2 separate regions of the Homo sapiens genome follow, and region 2 is linked to region 1. Evidence: promoter capture Hi-C in human tissues and cell types (Jung and others, 2019). All regions are on one chromosome and are shown on one strand. The core of a region is centred on a gene start or on the middle of the fragment in contact, and the rest is flanking DNA. Distances in the headings are between cores, read along the strand shown.

Region 1 (5,586 bases), core at 483-2,982:
CACGAAATGAATGAAAGTCCAGATTCTACTTGTGCACTTCAGCATCCCAGGTTTCCTAGAGTTGCTACTTCCAACTCGGTACCCTGTCCCACCGTGAAGCAATGCTTTATACTAACAAAAGAGAACAGATCTGAGCACAACAGGAATAATGAGAAATAGGAAGAAACTGGCCCATAAGCAAATGGAACACCAGAAATCAATACTGTTCTATGTGCCTGGAATTTGTAAAGAAAATGATCCTCTATCCTTGAATTCATAAATTCGATTTAAAATATTCATTTATGTTCGATTAATGTAAATAAGGATTTGTTATGTACTGCATTCCTGGTTGTCAGCTATTTTTTTCTCAACAAAGAAAAATTCATTTTAACTTAAGATCACTTGGAAAATGTCCTAAATAAGCACTCCAAAACCCTCTATTACAAATATATGTGGAAACTAACTTTAGAATATATTTCTTAAAATGAATGATTCATCGGATATAGTCCAAATACTATTAGCTAATCAAATTGTGAAATTCTAATTAAATGGCTACTTAAGTTTAATCTATTTAAAAATCACAGGCAGGAGGCTAAACACAGAGAAAGGGTTTAGACCATTTGGTTCTAGCTTTTATAAATTGGTTTAAGACTATTAAGCTTACTTTCACTCATTTTATTTTGTAATTTTATAAGTCTCATTTATTTGGCTCTAAATTCTACATCTGGGTATTTAAGGAGCTCGACCTTCCAAACTGTTAATATTAACTTCTTGGAAGCAATCCCTCCCACATTAGCGCTTTTTCTCAATTTGGGTACAATCAAGGGGGAAACAATTGGATATCCAAGGGCTCCTTCTTTTAAATAGCAGCCCAGGAAGACAAAAGTGAGAAAGAAAAAGAGGAGCATCTTTAACCAGCAACCTTGAAAAAAGGCATCCCCAACAGCTGTCGCCAACTCAGCTGGCTCGCTCCCATTTCTCAAAACACCGCCTGGACGCCTTGGTCAAAAAAAGAAAAAGAAAAGAAAAAAAACCAGATTCCCGCTTCCCTGGGACAGGGAGCTCCCTTTTGTAGAAGTAGCTAAAGAAAGCGAGGCGCCCCACGGGATTTCATCTCGTCGTCAAGGCAGCGCCAACCCCAGCCGTCCGGCGCAAGGAAAGCTCCGGCGGGCCCGGAGCCCACGGCGGCCCCAGCCTCCGGCAGAGCAGCCCCGGCAGAGCCCGGAGCCCCGCGGCCGCAGAGTTCCGGCAGCGACCCCGGACGGCCCGGCGGGCGTCCCCCGGACCGCGGCGGAAGGCGGGAAGACGCGGCTCGACTTACAGTGACACCATCCTAGGTGACAGCACCAGTGCAGCTTGAAGCACTTGCCATGGCTGTGCGTGGCACAGATAGACAGCCCGTCGCACGGCTGGAAGTCGGGTCTGCGGGCGGCGCAACTCCGCGCCAGGGCCTGAGCCTCATCTAGTTTCTCGCTCTTCCAACCCCGCTCCGACGCCGGCGAGGCCGCCGCACTCATTTCCTCTCCCTCCGCGCGGAGCCGACACCGGGAGCCCGGGAGAAGCGACGTCTGGGTGGGCAGGAAGCCGAGCCGGCTGCGGACGCGGGAGGGCGCGGCACGGGCCGGGAGTCACGCCAGCACGCGGCGGCGGCGGGAGCGCGGCGGTCCCAGGCTCGAGGAGGAGCCGCCCCGGGCGCTGCGACCGGGTCCGGGCTGGCAGCCTCCCTCCCTCCGGCGCGGCGCGCGCCGCGCCCCACGCGCACACGCACGCGCACAGGCGCGCGCCGGTCGGCCCCGCGCGACGTTCCTCAGCGAGCCCGGCCTTCTCACACACACGCCGCTGGGGAGCTTGGCCGTCGGCGTCCCCGCCGGTCACAGCGAGGTCCTCCTCACATACTCACTCCTTCCTCGGAGAAAGACCCCGACGGAGGGCCGTGGTGAACACACACTCCTCGGCCGCTTTGTACTCACATGCACGCCAGCCTACATATGCACTTCCCCCCGAGTGACACTGGCCACCGAGAACTGACACACGCGTCCACACGCTCCACGGAGGGCTGCGCACACCTGGCCCACGCCCACCCGAACCTCCTAGTGGCCCGGGCCGGGTGCATCGCGTAGCGAGGATCTCACACACACAGCCTGTCCCCACAGGCGTCTCACATCTCCCTCGTACACACCTCCCCGTGTCTGGGCATGGAGCCCCTGGGAGGCGCGCACACGCTCGTGCACACGCGCGCACTCCCCCCACCCAGGGCGGGCCTCCTGCCCCAGCGCGGCCACAGGGCGCGTCAGGGGCCAGCACCGCCAACCCCTGCCCGCCTCGCCCCAAACCCCAGGCCAGTGCGCCCGGGCCTTCCCGCGCCCGCCCCAACCTTCGCCGGGACCGCAGCCCCTCCCCCTTCTCCTCCCACCCCCGCCTCCGTTGAGCGGGAAAGCAACAAAGCTGGGTGCATTGATGTGTGTGTGTGTCTGCGTATGTGTAGTTTGGTGTGCATGGGATGTGTGTGTTGCGTGCGTGTGTATGATTATTTGGAGTATGTATGGTGGGTATGCGTGTGTGGTTGTGTGTGGTTAGGTGTGTTCATGGTACATGGTGGGTGGTATGCGTGATGCAAGTGACTGGTGAGGTGTGTGTATACGTGTGTATGTGAAATGAATGTTATAACTGAGGTGGAGTGTGGGTGGTGTGTGTGTGGTTGAGTGTGTGTGGCGTGCAGAATATGTATATGTGTGTAGTTGGACGTGCATGTGCTTGTGCACGTGTTGTGGGGGTGGGTATGCTTAGTAATACAGAGTGGTGTGTGTATGGTATATGTGTGGCAGTGCAGTGCGTGTATCTGGCATGTCGAGTGTGCACATGGCATATACGGATCAAATCGGGTGTGTGTGGTACATAGGAGTGGGTGGGCACACAAACAGGACTCATGTATGCGGAGGACTCTGCCTTTCTGTGTTAGCGCCTGCTCTGGCCAGCAGGTGTGACTGACCCTGTGGTGGCTGCGGCTTCCCCACACAGTTGGCTCGCACTCTTCCCTCCTGGGGACAAGTTGCTCCAAATAGATTTTCCATGCCAGGCTCTGCTGCTGAGAACCGACCCCAGGCTGGATTCACTGAAGAGGAAACAAACCATTTGCTCCCATGGTGCACTGCTGGGAATTAGTGTTTCCCTGCAACAAGGCCAGAACCCAGCCTTGAACACAGAAGAGGAGGGGACACCCCCTCCTTATTTGCCAAACGCACAGAAGAATGCTTGTTCAAGGAACAAGGCTTTCAGCACAAACACTGTGTGGGAACATGTTTATGCCCAGGTCCACTTTCTCCTTTATGCCTTTCCTGCTTTGCACTGACAAGAGACTCATCATGGTTTTGAAACAACCAAATTCATCCTCAAGCTTGAAAATCCTTGCTGCCATAAGCAATCTTTCATAATTTTCCCTTTTATGTAACCTTGGCTTGAGAAGGGAAATGTAATTTGCATATATCTGACTCTGGTGAAATCTTCATTTATTAGGGATTGGGGAGAGACTCAATTTGGCAGCAAAAGTATTTTCCAGAAAGGTCTGAATCAAAATCACAAACTCTAGTTCCCCCATTAACCTAACATTGAAACAGTTGCAAACATGAAGAATCATCTCATCAGCTTCCACCCCAACTGCTCCCCGCCTCAAAAAAATCCTAAAGGAATACATCTCTGACACAAAATCTATGCACCCCTGCTGTTAACTTCACAGTCTGACCTACCTCAGAATAACGGAAGTAAAAGGCAGAGAAATCTTAATCAAAGAAATCCATACTCCATTATTACTGCAGCAAGCCAACCAACAATTTTTCAAAGGGGACTTTCCATCTGTTCTACCCTATTTTTCTCTTTCTCCAACCTATAACTCACTCTAATACTGCCCCTATCATAGAAGGCCTTATGACGGCATCCTCTCTGTATTTCAGTAACTAATACTTGTATGGGATCCTTCCCCTGACTTTTACCCCAGGGTGAACCATGTGGTAAGATTCCACAATATATGAAATAAACCATCTCAGCTAGTAAAAAATGAGCATGAGAAAGCATGCAATATAGCACTTTAGCTAGGAGGCAAGATGAATTATCCAAACACCTTATTTTAGGTTAGACACGTGATTTGAAGTTGAGAAGCCTTTACATTTTCTGTACCATGAAACTCATTCCATCACCTTGCCCTAAAGACGTTATTGATTTCTACTGTCTGGTGTGGAGCGGGAGGAGGTAATTGCTGTGACCTCTCAAATATATACACACAGCTTTCAGGATGTGTTGTTGGGATACGATTTTTAAATTTTTTATTATGAAACTTTCCAAAATATACAAACATAGAGAGATGAAGATAACCCCCCATGTACCCATGTACCCATCACCCAGTTTCAACGATTATGAACTCATTTAGAAAACCTTGTTTCATCTACAGCGCCACCCACTCCAGGCCCCCAACCTGTCCACTGGATCATTTTTAAGCCAATCTCAAACATCAAATCGTTTCATCCATTAATATTTTGGTGTATATCTCTAAAGGAAATTTTAAAATCTCTAACCATAATTATTGCATAATAGCATACAATTTGATCATAAATATGAACTTGTCCTGTAGCTGCTGACCACCTCTCCAGCTCCCCTTTAAGAATGCTACTCCCTGCCAGGCACAGTGGCTCATGCCTGTAATCCCAACACTTTGGGAGGCCAAGGCGGATGGATCACCTGAGGTCAGGAGTTCGAGACCAGCCTGGACAACATGGTGAAACCCCATCTCTACTAAAAATACAAAAATTAGCTGGGCATGGTGGTGCGCACCTGTAATCCTGGCTACTCAGGAGGCTGAGGCAGGAGAATCACTTAAACCCGGGAGGTGGAGGTTGCAGTGAGTCGAGATCGCACTGCTACACTCCACCCTGGGCCACAGAGTGAGACTCCATCTCAAAAAAAAAGGAATGCTACTCCCTGCCAGGCACAGTGGTTCATGCCTGTAATCCCAACACTTTGGGAGACCAAGGCGGGCAGATCGCCTGAGGTCAGGATTTCAAGACCAGCCAATATGGCGAAAACCCATCTCTACTAAAAATACAAAAATTACCCGGGTGTGGTAGCGCGCACCTGTAATCCCAGCTACTCAGGAGGCTGAAGCAGGAGAACCACTTGAACCCGGGAGGCAGAGGTTGCAGTGAGCTGAGATTGCACCACTGCACTGCCTGGATGACAGAGTAAAGCTCCGTCTCAAAAAAATAATAATAAAATAAAATAAAATAAAAAAGAATACTACTCCCTCTGCCTGGAATTTTCCTCTGTCCCTGACTCTTAATCCCCCATCTACCTCTTCAGATTAAGTGCCATTTTCTCTGACTAGTCCAGACTGAGCTATACACGCTGTCCATTCAGGTCACTTATCCCAATTGTAAACAAAAATTAAAGAAGGAATTCTTCAATTAATATCTTTCCCTGTGTCCCTTCCCCGACACAAACTGTACGCTCTTTGAGGACAGGAACATTTCCATCTTGTTTTCAATATTTAGGGCAGAGAATAAATAATTGTTGAAATAGTGAAAATAATTTCATCTCCGGTTCTAAAGGGCTGGAAAAGAT
Region 2 (6,244 bases), core at 1,631-4,130, 170 kb before region 1:
CATATTCTTATGATTTTTCCTTAATGAAACCATATAGTATGGTTGATCTCATCTTTCATGTTTCTTTCTGATGTTCCACTCATATAATTTATCTTAAGTAATTGTAGTCTTTGTAACTTGTCAACAGTTAATTTTAAAATATCAAAGAGGCCTTGGTTAGCTAAGTTTCTAAGAAGCTATATAAATGCACTGTTTTTCCACAGACTTATAGGAAAAACTGAAAACTCTTATTTTAAACTAACCTTAATGTTAATATTTTGTTATAACAGCTCTGAAGTCTTTGACCATGCAAGTTTTAAATAGCATGGCAGCATTTATTGCCCTTCCATCAATCTTGCAAAGAATCTTACAGGTGAGTTAAAAGGGGTGAATATTAAATATTGATTTCAACTAACATTTTAGTTATATATAAATAACAGTGAATTGGGCTAATATTTAAATGGATCTCAAGCATAATGCAGCTAATTTTTGGCAATAGCTAAATATCTAAATATCTAACTTCCGACCCTCATTCTTGAATCTTTTCTGTCAGTTTTTTGGTGTGACTTTGCCTGACATAAGCTTGTGACCTTCAGTTAGGGCGTGCGGCCTTCAGATATTCCCTGTTGCCTTGGGATTCAGATATACAAGTTTCCTATTGGTTTGCTAACTGGGAGGGAGTTATCAGCTGATTATAATTTTTAGATTCCAAAAAGATAATCTAAAAATTAATACAGGAATTTCCTAAGCATTGGTTGTTATTTAGGCTTTCTAACTCATCCTAAAATTATTTTTGTCTTGAATACTCATCCTTGACTCTAAATTCTAGCTGGCTTTGTGTCCAAAGCTTTTGTAGGAAGCATTATTTTGGTTTGCTTCTTTCAACAAAAAAGCCTGAACCTTCTCGGCTTCATCAAAAGAGAACACTCAAAATACTCCAAGATATATTTTTAGAAAAAAACCTGTGAGCATTCTTGGGGAAACAACAGGAATTATACTTAGAATCCATTTTGTCTATCCTCACTTTATTCAGTATAGGCATACATGTGCATGCACCCCGCCCCCCTCCCACACACATACAAAGCAAACCGTAATATGATGCCATTAGTCTTTATAATTTTCAAATGATTTTTATTCAATGAAGAATGTTCCTGTCAGCTCTTTTAAGACTCACCAAGCTTGGCCGGGCGTGGTGGCTCACGCCTGTAATCCCAGCACTTTGGGAAGCCGAGGCGGGCGGATCATGAGGTCAGGAGATCGAGACCATCCTGGATAACACGGTGAAACCCCGTCTCTACTAAAAATACAAAAAAATAGCCGGGCATGGTGGCAGGCGCCTGTAGTCCCAGTTACTTGGGAGGCTGAGGCAGGAGAATGGCGTGAACCCGGGAGGCAGAGTTTGCAGTGAGCCGAGATCGAGCCACTGCACTCCGGCCTGGGCAACAGAGCGAGACTCCGTCTCAAAAAAAAAAACTCTACTTCCCATCTGATATTAAGCTTCTGGGGCTTTTCTGATAAAGATGACTACATCCTGTAGTCTTTGTCATTACATGGTATACTATCATTTAGAATACTTTTTTTTTTTTTTTTTGAGACAGTTTCACTCTTGTTGCCCAGGCTGGAGTGCAATGGTGTGATCTTGGCTCACCGCAACCTCCGCCTCCTGGGTTCAAGTGATTCTCTTGCCTCAGCCTCCCGAGTAGCTGGGATTAGAGGCATGTGCCACCACGCCCAGCTGATTTTGTATTTTTAGTAGAGACCGGGTTTCTCCATGTTGGTCAGGCTGGTCTCAAACTCCTGACCTCAGGTGATCCGCCCGCCTCAGCCTCCCAAAGTGCTCGGATTACAGGCATGAGCCACAGCGCCCGGCCAGAACACATTTTTACATGTATTATTTCATTTGATCTTAGCAATTATCATGTGTTGAATAATTCTTTGATATAGACTGCTTCACATATCCATTTTAAAGCTCATTACTTATGAGGTTTCTAATCATGTATAAAGTAATATCTCCATAAGGGCAGGAATACTTTTCCAAGTAAGTTATAAGAAATGAAATCATAAAGCCAAATGGGTTCTCTCTGTGCTATACATTTTGCTTTATATTGAGCTTTAACCACACATTATGATATGTAAATTATAACAAAAACATGTTTTTCTCTTGGCAAAAACATGATTTTTAAAATTTTTTATATTTCAAGACTTTGGAATCTAGAAGTCTCTTGATATTTGAAAATCTTCACTTTATTTTGAGTTATACTGGCATTCATTATAATTTTTTCTTATCATTTTCTATTTTCAATGGTTGTTAACTCCCACTAATCAGGAAGGTATGCTATTTCTTAAATTCCTCATTTGCATGTTTGTGATTACTGTAATTATGCTACCTTATATATGTACAGAGATTTTTATTTTTCAAGGTGCTTTCACAGATATCATTTCATTTGAAGCCCACAACAATCCCTTGAGGTAGGCAGGGCTACTATAAACATTTCTGCTGAAAAAAGAAGAAACTGAAGTATAGAGAAGTTGAGTTCTTAGCCTATCATTAGCAGCAGAACCTGGACCACCCCCTAAGTCTCTCACTTCCTAATTCACGTTCTTTTTTATTATGTCATGTGAGCTTTTTTTATTTGTTTATGTCCCTGGTCTTTTGAGTTCATTATTAATTAAATATATTAATTGTATGTTATGCTGTTTAGATGAAAGGCATAGTTCTGAACCCATAAGAGCTCTTATTTAAGAGACAAAAAATGTGCTGATACAACTATTCATAGGGCTCTATTCAAGTAATAGTGGCCACCTTTAGGATTATCTGCTCTGAATCCATATAGGATAATTGCCATGCCTACATTTCTATACTTAATCTGTGTAAGAGCAGAAGGAGCTGTGGGAAAGTGTGACCCTGCCTCCTGGGTCCAGCTGATTGACTCGGGGTGAGCAAATGGCCTAAACAAGGCCAATCAGTGTGCTTTCCAGGACATTTTGGAACTGAACTTGGAAAAGATCTATAAGTCTCTCGTTAAGTCTCTGGATTACATCAGGTACAAATTTCAGGAACGGACAGTTCCTGTTTTTCCATTATATGGACTGGAAGAGTGAAAAAGCATAATCTGTAGAGAGAAGGAGACGAATGTAGTAGACACTAAGAAGAGACACACAAATGGATACAATGCATAAAGAGGATTCAAGACATAGAGACGAGGAGAGGAGACCATGTGGGGAGAAAAAGCTGATGCACATGAGTCTCTCATTGTGACTCTTAAGACTTACCAGCATTCCTCTTCTTAGATCTGTGAAATACCCTAGCATCTTTACAATAATTAACTTTTTTGAGTAAGTTAGATTGAGTGGTATTTATGGCTATATATGACCAAAGGAGTACCAATAAAAGTATATACCTGAAACAGAGTAGGAAATTTGGAAAGATTTCCTGGAAGAGGAGATGTCTGAGCTGATTCTTAAAAGAGTCTAAGGAAATCAAGGAAAGAAAGGAGGTAGGATTATTCTATATACACAAAGACTTTGAGGTGAAAGCATGGTACTTTTGGAAAGTTACAAGTTTTTTAAGTGTGCTCAGAACATAGGATAAGAATAAAGAAAAATTACAGAGCTGAAATTTGAGAGATAGGCAGGGACTGTGTCTTTAATTGCTTTATAATTCATGATAAGGAGTTTGGATTTTATTCTAAAATCAGTTGTCATCAAGATTTTTAGCAGAGGAATGACTCAGACACAAGGGGAGGGGAGTAAAACACAGGGCTGAAAATGAGGATTTGGGGAAAGTCTGCTGATGGTATTCCCCGTGCTCCTCTTCCCCCTTCCAGCAGCCATCAGACGCACTCACTTCTCATGAAGGAGACAGAGGTTCATTTTCTTGAGACACTGAATGATCTCAGAGGAATAAACCCTAAACAGATTGGATGCTTCAGGTTTTCCTCAAGAAAAAGGCTGGCTAGCTGTCCTGTCACTCTCCATGGAGCTGCATCAGTCAGCAAGCCTCAGTTACACAACCAGGCCTTTCATTGAGGTTTAGTATTTCTATTATTAAGTACTAGAGCAGTATTAGATTTACAGAGAAATTAAACAGAAAATACAGAGAATTCCCTTTTACCCCTTCTCCCTCCCACACTCAGTTTTGCCTACGGTTAACATTTTTGTATTAGTGTGGTATATTTGTTACAATTGGTGAATTAATATTGATATATTATAATTATTAACTAAAGTCCATAGTTTACATTAGCAATCACCCTTTGTGTTGTACAGTTGTATGGGTTTTGACAAATGCATAATGTCCTATATCCACCATTACCATATCATACACTGCTCTAAAAGGCCCCTGTGCTCCACCTATTCATCCTCCTCCCTATGCTAATCCCCTGGCAACCACTAATTTTTTTTCTTTTATTTGAGACAGAGTCTCACTCTGTCACCCAGGCTGGAGTACATTGGCGTGATCTCTGCTCACTGCAACGTCCACCTCCCAGGTTCAAGAGATTCTCATGCGTCAGCCTCCCAAATGGCTGGGATTACAGGCATACACCACCGTGCCCAGCTAATTTTTGTATTTTTAATAGAGATGGGGTCTTGCCATGTTGACCAGGCTGGTCTTGAACTCCTGGCTTCAAGTGATCTGCCCACCTCTGCCTCCCAAAGTGCTGAGATTACAGGTGCGAGTCACCGTGCCCACACTGATTTTTTTTTTTTAACTGTCCCTATAGTTTTACCTCTTCCAGAATGTCATATAGTTGGAATCATAGAGTGCGTAGTCTTTTCATATTGGCTTTTTTCACTTAGCAATATGCACTTAAAGTTCTTCCATTTCTTTTGGGGGCTTGATAGTTCATTTCTTTTTATCTCTGTATATTCCATTGTATGGATGTTCCACAGTTTTGTCTATCCACATACCTATCAAAGAACATCTTGGTTGCCTTCCAGTTCTGAAAATTTTCAGTAAAACAGCTATGAACATTCATATGCAGGCTTTTTGTGTGGACTTAAGTTTTAGACTCATTTGGGTAAATACCTAGGAATGTGATTGCTGGATTATATAAGACTATGCTTACTTTTGTAAGAAACTGCCAAACTCTGCTCCAAAATGTCTATACCATTTTACATTTCCGCCAGCGCTGAATGAAAGTTCCTGTTGCTCCATATCTTAGCAGCATGTGGTATTGTCAGTGTTTTGGATTTTAGACATTCTAGTAGACGTGTAGTAGTCTCATCATTGTTTTAATTTGTAGTTCTCTTACAACATGTGATATTGAGCTTTTACGTGCTTTTTGAAGTGTTTGTTTTCTTGTTGTTGGGTTTTAAGGATTCTTTGTATATTTTGGATAAGGTTCTTTATCACATGCGTGTTTTTGCAAATATTTTCTCCCACTCTGTGGCTGGTCTTTTTATTCTCTTAACAGTGTGTTTCACACAGCAGAAGTGTTTGCTTTTAATGAAGTCTAGTTTATTGACTTTTTCTTCCATGGAATATGCTTTTGATGTTGTATGTAAAAACTCATCACCAAACTCAAGGTTACCCAGATTTTTCTCATTTGTTTTTTCCTAAAAGTTTTGTATTTTTGCATTTTACACTTAGAGCTATGATCCATTTTGTGTTAATTTTGGGGGAAAATATATGGTCAGTGTTGATTCATTTTTCTGCATGTGAATATACACAGTTGGAACTAGTTCCAACACTGCTTGTTGAAAGGACTGTCCCTTTCTCCATTGAATTGCCTTTGCTTAGTTTACCATATTCATATGGGTCTATTTCTGGGTTTTCTGTTCTTTTACAATGATCTATTTTCTATTCCTTCACCAATACCAACACTGTCTTGATTAGTTTTATAGTAGGTCTTAAAGTCAGGGAGTGACAATCATCCAACTTTGCTCTTCTTCATTATTGTGTTGGCCATTCCTTGTCTTTTGCCTCTCTGCTTTAAACTTCAGAAACGGTTTGTTGATATCTACAAAGTAACTTGCTGGAATTTTGATTAGGAATACATTGAACTTATAGATCAAATGAAGAACTAACATTATAACAATATCAAATCTTTCTGTTCATGAACATGAAATATTTCTCCATGTATTTAGATCTTCTTTGCTTTCCCTCATTAGAGTGTTACAGTTTTCTTCATACAAACTGTGTATATTTTATTAGACATATCTAAATATTTCTCTTAGGTACTAATGTGAATAGTATCTTTTTAATTTTAAATTCTAACTGTTGGTTGCTGGCATATTGGAAACCAATTGACTTTGTATAATAACC

The links. Contacts are between HindIII fragments. The study calls those that stand out against the background at their distance.
Region 2: a contact is called between a fragment that was not itself captured here and the fragment with the promoter of C3orf70 in region 1, in 2 of the 25 tissues and cell types used here (aorta and hippocampus).

Annotation. Positions count from the first base shown.
Region 1 is chr3:185,151,328-185,156,913 of GRCh38, forward strand. It overlaps C3orf70 (chromosome 3 open reading frame 70), which reads right to left and starts at 1,733. Exons shown (of 2, transcript NM_001025266.3): 1 at 1,301-1,733. The coding sequence starts at 1,496. RefSeq lists a silencer at 1,139-1,358 and an enhancer at 1,779-1,918. The HindIII fragment of the contact is 5,340 bases long and covers 1-5,284 here.
Region 2 is chr3:184,982,743-184,988,986 of GRCh38, forward strand. It overlaps VPS8 (VPS8 subunit of CORVET complex), which reads left to right. Exons shown (of 48, transcript NM_001009921.3): 42 at 270-352. Among named protein-coding and RNA genes, the nearest start is that of C3orf70, 170 kb to the right of the region's middle. The HindIII fragment of the contact is 4,374 bases long and covers 694-5,067 here.